Linked DNA regions of Homo sapiens: regions 1, 2 and 3 are each linked to region 4. Evidence: promoter capture Hi-C in 16 types of primary human blood cells and fetal thymus (Javierre and others, 2016). All regions are on one chromosome and are shown on one strand. The core of a region is centred on a gene start or on the middle of the fragment in contact, and the rest is flanking DNA. Distances in the headings are between cores, read along the strand shown.

The links. The method cuts DNA at HindIII sites, captures the fragments that hold promoters and counts their contacts. A CHiCAGO score of 5 or more calls a contact.
Region 1: a contact is called between the fragment with the promoter of EGR4 here and the fragment with the promoter of MRPL19 in region 4, in 4 of 17 cell types (naive CD8 T cells, activated CD4 T cells, total CD8 T cells and 1 more). The highest score is 8.4, in naive CD8 T cells.
Region 2: a contact is called between a fragment that was not itself captured here and the fragment with the promoter of MRPL19 in region 4, in 1 of 17 cell types (M0 macrophages). The highest score is 6.2, in M0 macrophages.
Region 3: a contact is called between a fragment that was not itself captured here and the fragment with the promoter of MRPL19 in region 4, in 6 of 17 cell types (total B cells, monocytes, fetal thymus and 3 more). The highest score is 12.3, in total B cells.

Annotation. Positions count from the first base shown.
Region 1 is chr2:73,292,184-73,294,883 of GRCh38, forward strand. It overlaps EGR4 (early growth response 4), which reads right to left and starts at 1,365. Exons shown (of 2, transcript NM_001965.4): 1 at 999-1,365; 2 at 1-598. The coding sequence starts at 1,134. RefSeq lists a silencer at 1,648-1,727. The HindIII fragment of the contact is 1,844 bases long and covers 881-2,700 here.
Region 2 is chr2:73,272,139-73,274,838 of GRCh38, forward strand. The region is part of intron 1 of FBXO41 (F-box protein 41); the gene reads right to left. Among named protein-coding and RNA genes, the nearest start is that of FBXO41, 11 kb to the right of the region's middle. The HindIII fragment of the contact is 1,834 bases long and covers 407-2,240 here.
Region 3 is chr2:73,234,003-73,236,702 of GRCh38, forward strand. CCT7 (chaperonin containing TCP1 subunit 7) reads left to right here and starts at 306. Exons shown (of 12, transcript NM_006429.4): 1 at 306-382. The coding sequence starts at 377. RefSeq lists enhancers at 1-312, 1-3, 124-193. The HindIII fragment of the contact is 1,854 bases long and covers 367-2,220 here.
Region 4 is chr2:75,645,503-75,648,202 of GRCh38, forward strand. MRPL19 (mitochondrial ribosomal protein L19) reads left to right here and starts at 1,281. Exons shown (of 6, transcript NM_014763.4): 1 at 1,281-1,408; 2 at 1,600-1,717. The coding sequence starts at 1,306. RefSeq lists enhancers at 1,081-1,375, 1,211-1,510. The HindIII fragment of the contact is 2,636 bases long and covers 1,093-2,700 here.

The DNA.
Region 1 (2,700 bases), core at 115-2,614, 2.4 Mb before region 4:
GACAGCAAGTCCTCAATCTTGGTCCCTATTACGGGAAAACGAGCCTCCGGGGCGGCCTGGTAGTCTCCCTGTGACCCACAGTTCCCTGGGGCCCCCACAGAAAGCAGCTCCCAGGGCGCGTAGGGACCCTTGAAGGCAGAGACAGCGTCCAGCGCTGGCGAGGCGGGAGGCGCCCGGAGGCCGGGCTTGACGTCGGGCGGGGAGAGCTGAGGCTCATACAGGCACTGCGAGGGGGCACCCGCGCAAGGCGAGGCCTCCCAGAACGCCTCTGGGAAAGGGGCAGCGCCCAGATCCGGGGAGTAAAGGTCCGGCGGACCCGGCAGCAAGGCATCGGACCCCGCAGGAAAAGGGGCATCCAGCGGGGATCTGGACGCTGCTGCCTCTGGACCGGGGAAGGGTGCCAGGCCTAAGATGCCCGACATGAGGTTGAAGAGTGCCTCCGGGTCGTGCGGGTGTTCGGGCACTGCCTGAATGAAGAAGCTACCGCTGTAGCTGAGGCCGGGAGGGGGTGTGGGCGCAGGCCCCTCCAGGAAGCAGGAGTCGGCTAAGTCCCCACTTGCGCCGCAGCTGTTCAAAGCCCAGCTCAAGAAGTCGCCTGCTGAGGAGGGAGCAGGAATCAGCTCTGGGCACATCAAAGGGTGCACCTGAGTCCACAGCCCCTACCTACAAAACTCTTGGTGCCCACGGATATACACAAAGTGCCTTTTGCACATTCTGATTCAGCAGGGGCCCGCATACGTCCCAAGGAGCACATAGAAACATGCACACGCAAAACACACGTGCACAGGCAAAAGGGCGCTCCGATAACCGCACAGGTTCCTGCGGAGGCGCTGGCGGCCCAGTGTGGGTGGGAATGGGGGTGCGCACCCCAGGACTCCTAAGCTTCCCATCGCCCCTATTCTCATAGCTCCAATGTCCCAGTCCCTCCTGGTTCTCAGGTATGGTGCGCCCCCGCGCTGCGCCGTCGTCGTCTGAGCACCCCTGCTCGCCCTCCTTACCTCCAGGGTAGCCGGTGGCCGCGGGAGCGTCCCTGGCAGGCAGCCGGGGCAATTCAGCGCTGGGTTCGGCGCAACAGCCTTCAGTGGACTTGACGAGGAGCGCGTCGGGTTCGGAAAACTCGCTAAGGTGGAGCATGGCGCGGCGCCGGCTGTGGGGCGCCCGGGGCCTCGCCCGCTGGGCTTGGGGGCGCGCGGGTGGCGGGGAGGCTGGCGGTAGGGGTTCCCCGCAGCGCACAGACCTAGGCGCCCGGGCTCCTGGCTTCGGGCACTCACCTCTGGGAAAGGAGTCGGGGAGCCGCGGCGCCCTCGCTCGCCCGCACCGGCCTCGGGCGGCGGCTCCTCGCCTCTCCAAAGCGCTGCCGGGCTCCCCCAGCCCACAGCCCCCCCACTTATATAGCTGCGGCGGCGCTGGCTCCGGGCTTCCGACTCCCCGGGCCACTGCCATTTTGGGAGGCCCCGGCCCTGCCGCCGTGACGTAAATGCCCAAACATGGACACAGGATGTGTGCCGGGGACTCCCGAAAAGGAAAGCTCGAGCTGTGACGTTGTTGTTGTCGCCGCCGCCGCCAGGCTCGCGCCGCTGCGTGCGCGCGCGCTCCCCAGGCGTGGAGCGCTGGGGCCGCGGATGCGCCAGTCTGGGGCGCTGCGCCTCACCGGGCCGACCGTCCGGTAGATGCGCTTCCCACCTGGAGGCAGAGGCCGAGGGGCAGCAGGGGAGGACCGTGTTGGGTTTGAATCTGCCCTCTGCCACTAACTAGCTTGACACTCAGTCCCCCTTAACGTCAGTTTCTCACCTGTGCATTTCCTGTGGAGAGAAACTGAGAGCACATAAATGTCCAGGCGCACTCAGTAAACCACAGAGATTATTGCCATTCATTTCTTTTGCTCACGCCTGTGTGTTTTTCCATTTTAAGTTTTTTTTTTTTAAATTTGTGCTAGGAAAAATAATTTAAATTAAAAAGGACTGTAATACTTGTTAACAGTAGGAGGAAAGTCAACTAGCACAACAGGGTATATTCTAAATTGAAAAGTAAAAGTCCCTCCTCTCCACCTACCTTCATTCCTAGCTCCTGAGGTAGCCACATTTAAGTTTCTTGGGTATTCTTTCAGAAGAATTTTATGTATATCCAACCATACACATTGTTCTGCAATATTATTATTATTATTATTTTTTCACTTGAAATAACTTAGAGATTGTGCCATGTCCTGACATAAAGATCTTGTCATTCTTTTTCAAGGCTGTATAGTACTCCATTGTAAGGGAGGACCTTGAGTTAGTCGATTTGTCCCCTATCCATGAGCATGTAGGCAGTTTCCAACTTTTTACTTATACCAATGTTGTTGGAGTCAACATCCTTGACTATATAAATGTGAATGTGTCTGTGAGATAAATTCCAACGAGTGTAATTGTGTGCCAAAGTATATGTAAAATTTTGATAGACAACTGGCAAATTGTCTTCCAGAAAAGTAGGGCCAATTCCTGCTCACTCCTCCCTCACCCACAGGGTATGAGATGCTTCTGCAGAACATTTTTTCTGCCTTCATACAAATGGCTTTCGCTCTAAGGATGTTGATCCCAGCAACACACAGGGAATCCGTGGGAAATATCTCCCTGGAATCAGTACTTGAAATAATTGGGCTTCTTTTGAGAAAAAAAAAAAAAATCCTAGCCTTAAGGAGGCTGTGAATCTTGGCTGCAGAAG
Region 2 (2,700 bases), core at 74-2,573, 2.4 Mb before region 4:
TGATTAAACTGTCTCCCACCATCCCTGGAGCTCAGGCCATGTACCTACCATGGCTGGAACATTAGGGGATTTGTAGAAAAATGTCAGGATGTTGGGAGTGTCTTTCCAACGGCCTCAGTAAGGTCCAACAAGCAAGAGACACACTCTGGTTGAAAGGAGCCCATCTGAAAGCAGAGAGGAAGAAAATTTGGGCTTGCCCAGAGAGGCCCTTTCTGCCTGCAGCCAGTAATTCAATATGGCTGAGAGTCAGATAATTAAGAGCCAGTTCTTTGCTTCAAGCTAAAGTCAGCTCAAGCGAAGACAAAGAGGCTGGGAACTAAGAGGGAGATAAGCCTGGGGCCTGACAGGTACTCAACTCCTTGGGCCCTGCTGAACCCTTCCTGCTGTGCCCTCCCAGCTGGACAGAAGCTTCCATTATAAGCAGCCTTCCATTGGGATGCAGCTTCAGTGAGAAGGGGCAGATGACCTTTTGCCTCCCTCCCCAAAGTTGGAGTTTGCTTTGCCCTGTGGCAGAGGCCCAGTTAGAGGCTGCAGAACCAAGGGCTCCTGGGATGGGCAGAACACTGAGGCCTGTTGCTAAGAGATAACCCCTCCCTCCTTCTACACCACCACCAGGGACTTCATTCAAGAACCATAACTTTCATAGAGGTCTCTAGCTTTGGTTAATAGCTCTGGGGATAACCAAATGCAAACTGACTGAAAAGCCTCCCAGGGATTAAGGGGATTGTATTGCCAGAAAGCCCCCACAAACCAAAGGATTGCTCAGCCCCTATGGTTGCCCTGAACCTCCCCAAACATGCACCCTTCAATGCCCCTCTCACAGAGACAGCAAAATCAGAGCAGTGAGATTGGTGTACCAGGAAACCTCTTCCTCACCATTCAGTCAAGCATGTGGACCACGGTCCAGGTTTTTTTCCTCACCCCCCTCTTCAACTAGGAGGGTTTTTCTTCTTCCAGCTATACAGTTTTCTCTCCATCATTGTAGTTGGGCCTTAAATGGAAAGACCATGACCTTAGTACCTAACCAAACAAACAGCCCCTTGCCATTGCCAAGATGTTGAATTGGGGATAGATGTGGTAACTGGGTGAAAACTTGGAATGTCTCCTCCCAGAAGTGGGATAACTGTGCTTTAAGTTTGGTGAGGGATAGTTGCATTATGATAAACAGGAAAATATTTTTTAAAATTACACAGTAAAGGGGGTCTGTGTCGATCTTTGACATCTAAGAAGTGAAATACAGTGGACTTTTATTGTTTTTGCTGCCCGGCTCTAGTCCCTCTTTATTGTGAATTGATCCCCAATTTTCCCTTTGAGAACCATTGCCTGCACTTTGAATAGATTTGGGTAGGGCTGACAGCTTCCATTGGCTCCCAGGGAACACACATGACCTCAGTCTGTTCCATTAGAATCACAGTGGTCAGGTCAGTAATGGACTCATTTCTCAGTCTGGGCCGATACAGTCACTTCGGGAGCTGTGCTCAGTTGGTAGGCTGTGAGCCTGGAGCCTCTTGTGGCCATTTTTGCCCTGTCTTTGAGACAAAAGTAAAGGACCCCTGATGATATTTGAGCATCCACATCCAGATGTGCCTGAAGCTCTAACCCAGGACTTGACCATTGAGAAGGGCTGCAAATGTTTTTGTAGCTTTTATCATTTGGGTCGGTTGCCAGTCTCTAGTAATGAGACTCCAGACTAACACAATGGCCCACAGTGTCAAAAACAAATCCCAGACTTCTCCTCACCTACTACCCAGCACCCCTGTTTCCTTTGGTGTTACTGTCCTCCCAGCCACAGCACTGGCCATCTTGATTTTTCTCTCTGCTAACCATCAAGACCTACTGGTTTTTCCTTCCAAGTGCTTTCAACCCAACTGTTCTTTTCTCATGCTTTGTACTCTTCCAGGCCACAACCTCATCACATCTAGACTGCTGGCCCAGCCTTCAGTCCCGCAGCTCCATTCCATCTGTAAAGGCATCGGATTCCTCTGCTCAGACTCCTTCAAGGGCACCCCCATCCACTACCAACTGCAGCCAAACTCCTCAGCTTCACGATCTGGCCCCTGTGCTCTTGCCAATTTGAAACTGGAAAGTGGCCTGGCTGTTTCACTTGCATGTCCTTGATTGTGATGGCTGGACAGTTTTTCACACATACACTGGCCATTTCTATCTCTTTGGTAACTTGCCTGTGCACTACTTTGCTCATTTTCATACTGAACATTCATATTTTCTTATCGATTTACAAAAGCTTTTAATATTATTGATCCTGTGTCATTTATATACCTCAAATATTTTTCTCAAGTGTGTTGATTGGCTTTTACTTTTGTTTATGGTCTTTATTGATATACTAGAGTTTTAAATTATGCCGCCGTAAAATCGGATTTTGTTATTATGCTTAGGAAATCTCTCCCTACCCAGAGATTATAAACAGTTACATATGTTTTCTTTCGATACTTGTGATTTCCTTTTTTTAAAATTCCAGAATATTTTTTAGAATTAAGGGCTTTAAACAAATAGCCCTAATACCATAGACTGACAATGACTTGGTAGTATTAAATACTTTAGGCTGTATGATTTCCTTTTTCCTTTTGGATTTTTTTTTGTTTGTTTGTTTTTAGAAACAGGGTCTCACTATGTTGCCCAGGCCGGTCAGAAAGTGCTAGGCTCAAATGATCCACCCACCTCAACCTCCCAAAGTGCTGGGAT
Region 3 (2,700 bases), core at 44-2,543, 2.4 Mb before region 4:
CCACACTTTGCGTCCCACACTTTTGCCTTTATTGCATTCCTTGGTCTGGCGTCCGGGGATGGAGGAGGGTGGAATTAAGTTAGTAGGTGATGCGGGCCGAGCAAAGACCCTCCGTGCTCTAAGAAGCACGACCGAAATGCGGCGACCCCTCTTTAATGAACGCCCCTCACTAGAGAGTCCCCGAAGCCCAGCCTCAGGTCCTTCTAGCCGCACCGAGTCGGTGGTAACGAACCATAGAGTAGCGGAAGTGGTCCGTTCTCTTCCTCTCCCGGCCCAAGCTTCTGGGTATTTCTATTGCGCGAGGCATTGTGGGTTGCTGGGCGGCCCGGTCTCGGAGAAGAGGGGAGAGTGGCGGGCCGCTGAATAAGCTTCCAAAATGATGGTGAGTGGCGTCTCGCGCATCCGTCGCCATCAGCTGCCATCTGGCCGGTGGCCGGCGCCGCTCGGCCTGGGCTTGCTCTGTAGGACCCTCTTTTGCTTGCCGCCTCTGTCCTCGCCCAGATCCCCAGCTTAGGGGCGACCCCAGCCAGCCGCGGCCTGGCTCGGCCCGAGCACGGCGCTGGAGCCGTTGGCGAGGGCTGCGTGGGGCTTTAGAGGAGTCTCTGGGCTGGCCGGTTGGGGACTACAAGTCCCAGGGTGCTTCGGGCCCGCGAACCCACGTCGGGGACCTCTTTTTTAGCCCCGCATGATCGGGACTTGCGTGAAACGAGTGCAGGTCGGCCGTGGTTACGCGGTCGGCAGCTAGACTTGGAAGCTGGGGCTGCTCTGAGATTTGCGGGCTGTAAAGACGTGTGCTTCTTGGAACCGGCACAGGCACATTGGGGACCTCATATTGTGCCCGCCTAGGGACTCACTATGTTCACTCGCTGACCCTCACCGCAGCGTGCAGAGAAGCAGACGCCTTCCCTAGTACTTTTAATTCATTCACTCATTCGCTCAGTCATTAAATAAACGCGTCTTTAGTGCCTACTGAATGTACCAGGCCCTGGTGGTTGCTGGGGGTTGCAGCCTCTCAGCCAGGAGAACGGGAAAGGTAGATGGAGACACTGTATCGGAGGTGGGAAGACCCAGGCTCGGACTCTGGTGACATAAGAAAGGCTTTTCTAGTTGGCTACCTAACTCTGGGTCTCGTTTTCTTGAAATTTGGGGCGAGGGAGTTGCTGTGAGTCCTGGAGCCACCTAAAGTGCTCCTTGTAGCCCTACTTCCCACACTTCTTTTCTCTGTCTCTCGGAGCTTTAGATACTTTCCGTGGGTCCCAAGCCTCGATGGTATCTCCTGGGTTGTTATTGAGTAGGGCCAGCTTCCGAGGTGGTGTTTGACCCTGACTGAGATACTGCTTTCTGTGCACTTGGCAGTTCACTTATTCATTTTGGCCTGTCCGACTCTATCTTCTGCTCTTTTCCTGCTTCCTGCAGCTTTTCTCTGTCCTGTTAGGGACGCAGACACCTTTTAGGTGTTCTACCAAATGCCCTATGAATCCCGCTTGTACCCAAGGTAGAAGGAAATTAGCATTTAACAGTACTTCCTCTCCCCTTTATGTCTCTAGCATTGCTCATTCTTGAAGTCGTCTTCATCTTCTGTGCAGAGGCAGCATAGTACAGCAGTTGAGAGTAAGGCCTCTGGAGCTACACTGAATGCCTAGGTTTGTAACTTAGCTCTGCCACTTACTAGCTGTGTGACTTTGAGCATGTTATTTAATTTCTGGTTCTCAGTTTGTCAGTGTGCCTAGCAGATAGTAAGCACTCAGCAATGTTAGCTCTTACTCGGCGAGGTGGTTGTTTGCTTCCTTTCATCTCTGAAATCAGTCCATCCCGCTGCCAGGGCTTCCGTAAGAGCTTTGGTTCACATTCACACAGCTAGGGATCAGAACCGCCATTCTCTGCCGTGATAAAACTTCACCAGTGGGCTCTAGATCATCACACTTGGATTTTCCCTGAACTGACCCCTCCTCTGTCAGATTGACGTTTCCCTGCTGTATTGGCTCTTGATATCTCCTCCCCATTTTTGGAATGTGAAACTTCTATCTCCAAGAGTCTTCCTGTCTTCAAATTGGCCCCTGATATTCTAGAATACTTCTGTAATCGAAAGAGAGGTGAAAAGGTCCCCTGAAACCTCAGTCCTGTGATGTTGGTACAGCTTGCATAAAATGTATGTCCTTGCCTTTGTGGCGTTGAGCGCTGTGTGCCTTGGCATAGACACACTTGTTTTGTAAGCCATTAAGCTTAATGATGCTTAGTGAAAGTTTTAAAGTAGGATGAAGAGGAAGATCAGTAAGCTGAAATTCCAAAACCTTCCATTATACCTGTGGCCAATTACTGGAGTCTGCTCTTGTTTCTTTTTCTTTTTTTTTTTTCCCGAGATGGAGTCTTGCTCTGTTGCCCAGGCTGGAGTGCAGTGGCACCATCTTGGCTCACTGCAACCTCCATTCCCAGGTTCAAGCAATTCTCCTGCCTCAGCCTCCCAAGTAGCTGGGATTACAGGCATACGCCACCACGCCTGGCTAATTTTTGTATTTTTAGTAGAGACGGGGTTTCACCGTGTTGACCAGGCTGGTCTCGAACACCTGACCTTGTGATTCACCCACCTTGGACTCCCAAAGTGCTGGGATTACAGGCGTGAGCCACCGCACCCGACCTTGTTTCTTATTTATTAGAGGAATAAAAAAAAGGAGCGAGGTTGAAAGTAACTAAGGGATGGAA
Region 4 (2,700 bases), core at 31-2,530:
TAACCACTGCTGAAATAACAAATTCCAAATTTCTTTTTTTGTGTGTGTTTCTTTTTCTGTTTTTTTGAGACGGAGTTTCGCTCTTGTTGCAATGGCGCGATCTCGGCTCACTGCAACCTCTGTCTCCCAGGTTCAAGCGATTCTCCTGCCTTAGCCTCCCAAGTAGCTGGGATTACAGGAGCCTGCCACCACACCTGGATCATTTTTTTTATTTTTGGTAGAAACGGGGTTTCACTATGTTGGCCAGGCTAGTCTCAAACTCCTGACCTCAGGCGATCTGCCCGCCTCGGCCTCCCAAAATGCTGGGGTTAAAGGCGTGAGCCACTGCGCCCGGCTGTGTGTTTGTTTCTTAGAGATACGGTCTCACTATATTGCCCAGGCTGGTTTCCAACTCATGAGCTCAAGGGACCCTCCTGTCTCGGCCTCCCACAGTGCTGGGATTACAGGCATGCCTGGCCACGCCCAGTCATTTTCCAAATTTCTTAACAAGACTTACAATTTACCTTTTCCAGCTTTACTTCTCCCACCTATCCATACCCACAGTTGCCCAGCCCAAATTCATTTGGGTTCCTCAAAGGGTTAATGCTTTGTGTAGTCTCAAGGACTATGGGCCAGCAGTTCTGTCAGGAACTATTCTATTCTCTTTTCTGTGCATTCAGCAAAGAATTAGAAAAATTAGCTGGGCGTGATGGTGCGAGACTGTAGTCTTGGCTACTCGGGAGGCTGAGGTGAGAGGATCTCCTGACATCAGGAGTTGGAGGCTGCAGAGCCATGATCGCGCCACTGCACTCCAGCCTGGGTAACAGAGGAAGACCTTGTCTCAACAAAACAAAAGATGTTAGTGAGGGCCCAGGTAGGTGCTAGGTGCTGGGATAACATGGTGAGCAAAAAGAAGACTTTATCCCTTCCCTTGCCTCATTATAGTATAATGGCAGATTTAAATACTAATCTAATAATTACACAAGAAAGAATTGCAAATGAGATCAGAGCTGCCAATCGAAGGCACCCAGTGGGAAAGACGGCCTACAATGGGATTTTCGCATAGCGAAAGCTTGTCTGAGAAGATAGAGTGGATTCATAGGGGGAGGAAAAAGCTTTCTAGGCTGGGAGAACACCCCTGTGGAGGGGTGTAACTTGGCGCATTACGAGGAACTAGAGAAACGTGCACTTTTCCTAAGACATCAGGAAAGGAGCGAGGAGAGACTTATCCATTTTGTCCCATAGCAGCCGCCATATGGTGGCAGACAGCAACAACCTCGTCGCACTGATTACTGGGAGCTGTAGTCTTGACGTGAGCTAGCTGGCATGGCGGCCTGCATTGCAGCGGGGCACTGGGCTGCAATGGGCCTAGGCCGGAGTTTCCAAGCCGCCAGGACTCTGCTCCCCCCGCCGGCCTCTATCGCCTGCAGTAAGTGGAGCCGGACTTGCGAGCTGGGGCGCGTTAGGGGCCCAGGGTCAGGATGGGGGAGGCGAACCTGGAGATCAGAGGCAACCCCAGCGTTGGTCCCCCGTGGGACGCCGGGTTGGGGGAGATTGCGGGGCTCTGCGGGATCTCAGGGTTGGCACGAGAGTTCTGACCTCCGTCGTCCGCTCCCGCAGGGGTCCACGCGGGGCCTGTCCGGCAGCAGAGCACTGGGCCTTCCGAGCCCGGTGCGTTCCAACCGCCGCCGAAACCGGTCATCGTGGACAAGCACCGCCCCGTGGAACCGGAACGCAGGTGAGGCACTGCCCTGGCGCTAGGCCGGCAACTGGGGTCGGTGCGCGCGTGAGCGCGTTCGCGTTCGAGGTCCCGGCTCTAAGGTGGGGGCTGCACCTCCCCCTGCACGAGCAGGTGTGTAGGATTCAAGAGCCAGCGCACCACACTGTTCTTTCTTTCTCACTTCTCCCCAAGCCAGCATTGAACTTCTTTGCAGTTTTATTGAGTCAGAACTTCAAGTAGGGGTTCCCCATATTTTAAACTCTTTTCTCTGTGGTATTTGTCCTGTACCAGAGTTTTTCTCTGAGGTATATCCTGTTTATACCTGTTTACGTCCAAGAGCTCTTCTTTTCTCTCAAAAGACCCTTAACCCTGGATAGGAATCGATTGGCCAACTTAAAAAATTTGCTATGGTTTAGGTTGGAAGTTTTGGCAGACAAAGCACAGTAAAACTGGCCACTAAATTGTGTCTGAAACTTACTCATCAAAATAGTGTGAATAAAAACTTATATGAATGGTGGTAATCTTGGAGGTACATGTAAATTTAAAGGACTTAAGGTCTGAAAAGAGAGCTATGTAGCAACCTTTTTAAAAAGCCAGTTTTCAGAGGAAAAACCTGATATGATTATAGGCTTTTTGAAAGGGCTGTAGATTATTGATTGGATTACTTCTGGGATTTTTAATTTTTTTATTTTTTAAATTTTTTTTAGACAGAGTCTCTCTCAGTCTCCCAGGCTGGAGTGCAGTGGTGATTTTAGCTCACTGCAGCCTCAAATTTCTGGGCTCAAGTGATCCTCCCGCCTCAGGCTCCAGAGTAGCTGGAACTACTGGTACCACGCCTGGCTTTTTTTTTTCTTTTCTTTTTTTAACATTTAAAATATTCCACGGATTTAAATAGAAGTAAACTTGGAGTTAGAGAACTAAGAGATTCAGAAAATATTTCTTCATAAAACTTTGCTTTTGAGGGTAGAAATGGAATATCTCTTTTAAACAGTGGCATTTAA